Regions from separate parts of the Homo sapiens genome. Here region 1 is linked to region 2. Evidence: promoter capture Hi-C in 16 types of primary human blood cells and fetal thymus (Javierre and others, 2016). All regions are on one chromosome and are shown on one strand. The core of a region is centred on a gene start or on the middle of the fragment in contact, and the rest is flanking DNA. Distances in the headings are between cores, read along the strand shown. Region 1 has its middle 2.4 kb from the start of MFN1. Region 2 holds the start of GNB4 (G protein subunit beta 4).

Region 1 (4,096 bases), core at 1,491-3,990, 110 kb after region 2:
ATTAAAAAAATTTTAAAAACTTAGCGAGGCGTGGTGGCACACACCTGTGGTCCCAGCTACTTCGGAGACTGAGGCGGGGGGATTGTTTGGGCCCGGGGCTGCAGCGAACTGTGATTTATCGTGCCACTGCACTCCAGCCTGGGCAAGAGAGCGAGACATTTTTTCAAATAAATAAATAAATAAATAAAAGAAAAGAAATCCAGATCGTATTACTTTCCGAACTTAAAAAGCTTTCCAGGCCGGGCGGGGTGGCTCACGCCTGTAATCCCAGCACTTTGGGAGGCCGAGGCGGGCGGATCACAAGGTCAGGAGATCGGGAGCATCCTGGCTAACACGGTGAACGCCCGTCTCTACTAAAAATACAAGAAGTAGCCGGGCGTGGTGGTGGCGGGCGCCTGTAGTTCCAGCTACTCAGGAGCCTGAGGCAGAGAATTGCTTGAACCCGGGAGGCGGAGGTTACAGTGAGCCGAGATCGCGCCACTGCACTCCAGCCTGGGCGACAGAGCCAGACTCCATCTCAAAAAAAAAAAAAAAAAAAAAAAAAAAAAAAAAAAAGCTTTCCAACAGCTTGCCATTATACTTAAAATTAAAGCTTCGGATGGTAACCGCCCAAGGAAAGCCTTCACCTTGCCCGCTGACTAGCCAGAACTGATACAAGACAGGGGGATTGCAAATAAAGACTTAGTCACGCAAAGCCGGCTGTATGGGAGACTGGAGTTTTATTATTACTGAAATCAGTCTCCCCGAGCAGCACTGGGGAGCAGAATTTTTAAGGACAATTTGGTGGGTTGGGGGAGGCCACTGAGCCAGGAGTGCTGATTGGTCAGGGATGAAATCGCAGGGAGTGGAAGCTGTCTTTCTGCACGAGTCAGTTCCTGGGTTGGGGGACACTAGGTCAGATGAGCCAGTTTATCGGTCTGGGTCGTGCCAGCTAATCCATCAGTTCTGAGCATAGGTAGTCTCAAAGGGAACATTTACTCTGTTTGAATTTTAAAAATCATGATGGTATCCTTTTATTAGTTCTGTACTTAATAATTATATTTAATATAATTACTGCATTTTAAAGCAAGAGTGACATATTACAGGCTATAAATTATAGCACGGTAATTAAATGTTTAATATAGTAAGTAATAAGAAATTTAATCCATTGCTTTTGTGTGTGTGTGGAACACACATATTACCAAAAAGCCAGGAGAGTAAACACAAAGAAGGAAAAGAATTAAAATATAAACGCTAAAACCAACATAGATATTAACAAAAACTAACGTTATTTGAAAGAAATTATCAATTTGATGTATCACTGCCAAATCTGTTCAAGAACATAAAAAATGAAAGGACACAAATTAAGGGGAGAATAACTATAGATATATATATAAATGCCAACAAATTGAAAAGCTTAGATGAAGTATAAAATCTGGGAAAACATCAAATACCAAAATTAGACCGAGAAAAAATAGAAAACTCGAATAGGCTAAGTTTCCCACATATTCAAAACTAGCCAGGTCTAGATGATTTTCGGGGTAACTTTCTATTACATGTTTAACGAAAAGATTAATCTTGCCGGGTGCGATGGCTCACGCCTGTAATCCCAGCAGTTTGGATCATGAGGCGTGTGGATCATGAGGTCAGGAGTTCGAGACCAGCCTGTCCAATATGGTGAAACCTTGTCTCTAATAAAAAACACAAAAATTAGCCAGGCGTGGTGGCAGGTGCCTGTAGTCTCAGCTACTCCAGAGGGAGAGGCAGGAGAATCACTTGAATCCGGGAGGCGGAGGTTTCAGTGAGCCAACATCACGCTACTGCACTCCAGCCTGGGCGAAAGAGCAAGACTCAGTCTCCAGAAAAAAAAAAAAAAAAAATTCACACTTATGGACTACAGAGGCAAACATAGGAAATATTAGCTACCTGAGGCCAACGTTGTATTAGAATTATTTTTTTATCCAAGTAGGGTTTTCCTAGGAATACAGAAATCATCAAACAGAAATCAATATAATCCATAATACTGACAGACCAAAGGAGGAAACCCACATTTATCTCAATACATGCAGAAGAAGTACTTGCTAAAGTTTAATATTTATAATAAGTCCTAACATTTATTTTTTATTTGCTATAAGCAAAGCTCTAATATTTATTATTTTTTAAATTATCAACCATTTCTCTTTATTTCCCTTGTTCTCTGCCTATACTTACCCAACTCTTAATATTTAAAGCATGTTGTTACTATTAAAGTATGTGATACTCTTGGAGGAACAAACGATGGAATGTAATTGTGTAAGACACAGATTTACATGCTAATTATGTCCATGGGGAGTTGGTATATGATAAAATTGGTATTATGAATCACTGGGTAAGATAAATTATTTTATCACATTGGAGAAATTGGTTCAATTTAATTAACAAAAATAAAGTTTGAATCATATCTATATACAAATTCAGATGGGTATAAGACCTGAACATGAAAAGTAAAACCAGGCCGGGCGCGGTGGCTCAAGCCTGTAATCCCAGTACTTTGGGAGGCCGAGGCGGGCGGATCACGAGGTGAGGAGATCGAGACCATCCTGGCTAATCCGGTGAAACCTCGTCTCTACTAAAAATACAAAAAAATTAGTCGGTTGTGGTGGCGGGCGCCTGTAGTCCCAGCTACTCGGGAGGCTGAGGCAGGAGAATGGCGTGAATGCCGGAGGCGGAGCTTGCAGTGAGCCGAGATCTCACCACTGCACTCCAACCGGGGCGACAGAGCAAGACTCCGTCTCAAAAAAAAAAAAAAAAGAAAAGTAAAACCAGAAAATTAGGAAAAAACGTAGGAAAATAATTTGGGGACATTTTAGTTGGAGAGAATTTTGTAAAATTAACAGACAGGAGGTACAATGTAAAGGGAAAATGTGATGAATCTATTACATTAAATTTAAGGATTTCTGTTCAAAAAAGTCATCCATAACAGACACATAGGAAATCTATTTTTTGCAGTATATATTGCCAACAAAAATCAATAGTTAAAAATAAAGAACTTCGGAAAATAGAGCAGAAAACCCAACAGAAAAGCAGACAAAGGATAGGGAGAAGCAGTTCACAAAATGAAAGTTAAAATGACTAATAAGCATATTAGATAGTCTCAACCTTGTTAGTAATCAGATTATGCAAATTTAAACAATAATAATGTACTACTTTATGACCTTAAGATTTACAGGAAATTTAAAAGTTGTATGATATTGTTGATAAGCCTGTGCGGAAACATGATCTTGCTGATGGGAGTATAAACTTTAGTCATTCTGCATATATTTTGGAAGTACTGAATCACAAGTATATAAAAAACTGACAAGAACGTGTATGGTAGGTAGCATTATACAAAAGGCAAATACTTGGATACATGAAAGTCAATTTGATATTTAATTGAATTGTAGTTCAGAAAGGTGACAGTTTCCTGCATTATATGGTAAATCTCTTTGAGGTCAAGAACCATAGTTTATCTTTGTATTCCTGAGCACTTGGCTTGATAGTAGATATTCCATAGCTGTTAGTTAAATAGAAGCATAGTAAAATAGTCTTTTTGTTTTGTTTTGTTTTTTTGAGGAGTCTCGCTCAGTTGCCCAGGCTGGAGTGCAATGGCACGATCTAGGCTCACTGAAACCTCCACCTCCCGGATTCAAGTGATTCTCCTGCCTCAGCCTCCCAAGTAGCTGGGATTACAGGCATCCGCCACCATGCTTGGCTAATTTTTCTATTTGTGTAGAGACAGGGTTTCACCATGCTGGCCAGGCTGGTCTCGAACTCCTGACCTCAGGTGATCCACCTGCCTCTCAGCCTCCCAAAGTGTTGGAATTACAGGCGTGAGCCACCACGCCCAGCCTGTAAAAATGGAAGTTTTTAAGGTTAAAAAAAAAAAAAGTTTTTAAGGAAGGGGGTGTCCAATCTTTTGGCTTCCCTGGGCCACACTGGACGAAGCATTGTCTTTGGTCACACATAAAATACACTAACAATAGCTGATGAGCTCGAAAACAAAACAAAACAAAAAATTGCAAATAAATCTCATAACATTTTAAGAAAGTTTACAAATTTGTGTTGGGCCGTGGGTTGGACAAGCTTGTTTTAAGGAGTT
Region 2 (3,608 bases), core at 1,015-3,514:
ATTTCTTTGTCTACATTAAATTTTCAGGAAGATTGACGATATCATTCTTTTAAACTCTTTAAAAGACAGTCAAATTCTTGTTACATCTTTTCAGGTTTTGTATTTTATGTTTAGGAGCTGTTCATTTATATTTCCCCTCATCTTTTCTGGAATAGACTATCTCATTGCTTCCCACTGTGTTTTCCTAAATACCAGCAACTTGTTTTTCAACAAATAATCTTAACCCAACAACCAGCTCTCAAAGCTTTATAACATCTGGTAAATGCTAGTGCACAGGAACAAGGCAGAAAAGAATCTAAAGAAAGAATATGGGGCCGGGATCGGTGGCTCACGCCTGTAATTCCAGCACTTTGGGAGGCCGAGGTGGGCGGATCACCTGAGGTCAGCAGATTGAGACCAGCCTGGTCAACACGGTGAAACCCCGTGTCTACTAAAAATACAAAAAATCAGCCGGGCGTGGTGGCTTGTGCCTGTAATCCCAGACTTGGGAGGCTGAGACACGAGAATCGCTTGAATCCTGGAGGTGGAGGTTGCAGTGAGCTGACATCACATCACTGCACAGTGACTCCGTCTCAAAACAAAAAAACAAACAAAAAAAAGAAAGAATGTGGGCTTTGGAGTTGATCCAATCTGATGTCATGCAGGGCTCTACCAATACCTTCGTGACTCCGATAAATTAATCTTACCAGGGCATCAGTTTGCTTATCTGTAAAATGGGGATAAAATTCACACTTCAAGGTAATTATGAGGATTAAGTACAGTATAAGAAAGCAGAGAGCATGGTCCGTAATAGGCACTCTTTAACAATTTCCCTTTGCTTCCTCCGAAAAACGACAATCATAAAACTCAGGATTTAATCATTAAAACATAAATAGTTACAGATGCAAAACACTCATGTCCCAACGAGCTCTTCTGACACTTTGATATGCAGAATATTTGGCATTTCTTTCTTCTTAATGGAAAAATGCTCCTAATATTAGTAAAAATGAAAATTTTGGGGGAAAAATTATCCACAGTTTCTTTATCTGTGGATAAAGAAAATAGAAACAGCTGCTTCTATTTTTGTCACGGCCTGGCTTTTATACAAAACGGTCACATTTTCCCCACAGTCACAAACAGGGTGTGTTTATCATGGCATCACCTCTTTCAAGGGACTAATAGATTTATTCCAGGTGATAGTGGGAAGCAGCTACAGAAGGAGGATTGGAAGGCTGAGGGGTTGTTAAAGTTATCTGATGATATTGTTCGAACATTTCTCCGGCACAGAAACTCCACAAAGAACTCCTCTGCAGTTTTCGCTACCCAGGGCTGTTTCTTTAAATTGTTTGACGTCAGAGAAGGAATGCTATAGCAACAGTCTGTCAAACTGGAATTAACTCAGAAGAAAAATGGGGGTGGGGAGAGGAAAAATGCTCCCAGGCGGTACTGACTTCAGAGGAAGCAAATTGGATAGATGCATTTATTTTATGACATTTTAAACATAAAACACCCAGATAAATGTGAAAAAAAAAAAAACTCGATTGAGATGCATGTGGTGTTTAACTCATGCAGAGAAGAGCGACTTGGCAGGGATATCTGGAAGGCCTTCCAGTTTTATCAATGACAATAGGAACAATAACTTCCAAGTATTGGCCATTTATTTGGAGGCAGGCTTCGTGCAAACATCACTTCATTTAATATGCTTAGCACCTTTATGAGGCAGGTATCAGTATCTTTATTTTGGCGATGACGAAACTTAGGCCCGAGACGGTACACGGTCCTACAACTAGTGATGGAAGAGCGGGGACTGCAACGCAAGGTTGTGCAACTCTGGGCTTCAGTTTACTTTCTGACATTTAGAATTCCAGAATGGGAAACCTAAATGGGGCCTTTGGGGTCTTCTAGCTCTGCCCTTCGATCCTGCTAACAAGCAAACTGGCGCCTGTCAGCGCCGGAAAGGAAACTGGCCACGCCACTTAGACGGGCGCTACTTAGCAGCGTGCCCCGGCGCCACACCAACAAGAAAACGAAACTGCCCGGGAATGAATGTTTTTCTTCTCCTTCTGGCAGGAAACGAGAGAGAAAATAGGAAGCAGAAGCTGCGCGCGGCGCCCGCTCCCTTCGCCCCCCGCCCGGGCTGCGCGCGCTCCGAGGGTCTGCGCGTCCCCGGCACGTCCCCGCCGGGCCCGCGCGCCTCGTGCCTCGCGCCTCGCGCCTCCAGCCACGTCCCCGCCCCGGCTCCGGCGCGCCGCGGAGTTGGCTGCTGGGAGGTGCGGGACTGGGTGTGGCCGGCGGCTCTGGTCTCGGCTGTGAGCTGCGCTCTCCACGCCGGCTCCGCGCTCCAGGGGCTGCTGAGCGCCCAGCGGACACCGGCAGCGCGCGGTCGACGCGGGCCTGAGCTCCCTCCAGGTAGGCGGCGAGCTCGCGAGCGGCGGCTCGTCGGTGCGCCCCGCGAAGCGATCCCGGGCTTCTCGCAGGGACGTGGGGCGCCGCGAGCCACCCCTGCGGAACGGGGCCCGGGTGACGGCGCGGGGCGGGGCGGGTCTCCCCGGGCTCGGGCGGCCGACGCTGCCCGGGAGGGACGAGGAGGGCGCGCCTGTGTCGCGCCCAGCTGCCACGCGGGAACTGGCCCCACGACCGCCGGCGCAGGCACTTCCCGGGCGGTCCAGACCGCTCGCCCCGGGGAGCGAGGAACGGTCGGCGGTCCAAGTCCTGCAGACCCCCCTGGTTTCTCGTCACTCCCCGAGGCCTCCTTCCAGGAACTCAGAGCACGAGCCCGTGCGTGCCCCCAAAATAACGGGTATTCGGGACTGCCCAGCAGGGCTGTTGGGTGGAGAGTGCTTGGAAGACTCATAAAAGTTCTACGCTGAGTCCAAAATTAGTCCAATGGTTTTGTTTCAGATTTATTTTGGAAATGATATAATGTCCAGAGTTTGGGGATGGGAGGGGATTGATGAATTTTGAATACTTGTGAGTTCAGTACAATAAAAAGTGTTTTGCTTTTCTCTCCACCTTTTTCTGCTTCAGAACACAGATGATTGCCATATACTTTGATATGTATTGCTATTCGCTAAGGGAACGTTGAATTTTCAAAAGTTTGAAACCAGGCTTTCATTTGTTTATACAAGCAATACTTTGTTATTTTTCGTCTCCTTGTGTTCCCTTTTCTCCCACTCCTTCCCTTTCTCTTTCCATAAAGGATAAGGATGCATCTTTCTCCCTCTCAGCCACCGACAAAGTAGCTTGGCGTGTGGCTTAGCGGGAAGTTTTCTTAAAACGTTCAAAATTTAATTGTTGATTAGAACTTTTATTATGAGTCCGTCTCAGTGTTGCAAACAGAGTTTATGACCATTAAGTACATCTTCTAGGACAGAGACAGAACACACGCTACTTAATTTAAGATGGGAGGGAAGTTATTTCTAGTCGGAGAGGAGGACGGCTGATTAGGTGCATTCAAAATTGTGTGCTTCGAGTCTCTGCCATTGTTCATTTTAATACTCTTCAGTTTGGGGCTTTTGGTTTACTACTGATCCTAGGCTCTGAAAATTTACTGTATATTTCAGTATGTGGCTTAAAGACATTTTAAGATTTTCCATGTTGCATTTTGGTTTGTAGATGAATTTGAAACT

The links. Contacts are between HindIII fragments. The CHiCAGO score rates a contact against its expected background, and 5 or more counts as called.
Region 1: a fragment that was not itself captured here is called in contact with the fragment with the promoter of GNB4 in region 2 in 1 of 17 cell types (total B cells); the score reaches 6.3 in total B cells.

The regions. Positions count from the first base shown.
Region 1 is chr3:179,343,211-179,347,306 of GRCh38, reverse strand. No RefSeq gene overlaps it. Among named protein-coding and RNA genes, the nearest start is that of MFN1, 2.4 kb to the left of the region's middle. The HindIII fragment of the contact is 2,685 bases long and covers 1,398-4,082 here.
Region 2 is chr3:179,450,126-179,453,733 of GRCh38, reverse strand. It overlaps GNB4 (G protein subunit beta 4), which reads left to right and starts at 2,264. Exons shown (of 10, transcript NM_021629.4): 1 at 2,264-2,388. It also overlaps the pseudogene RPL29P34. RefSeq lists silencers at 2,094-2,243, 2,284-2,693. The HindIII fragment of the contact is 16,902 bases long and covers 247-3,608 here.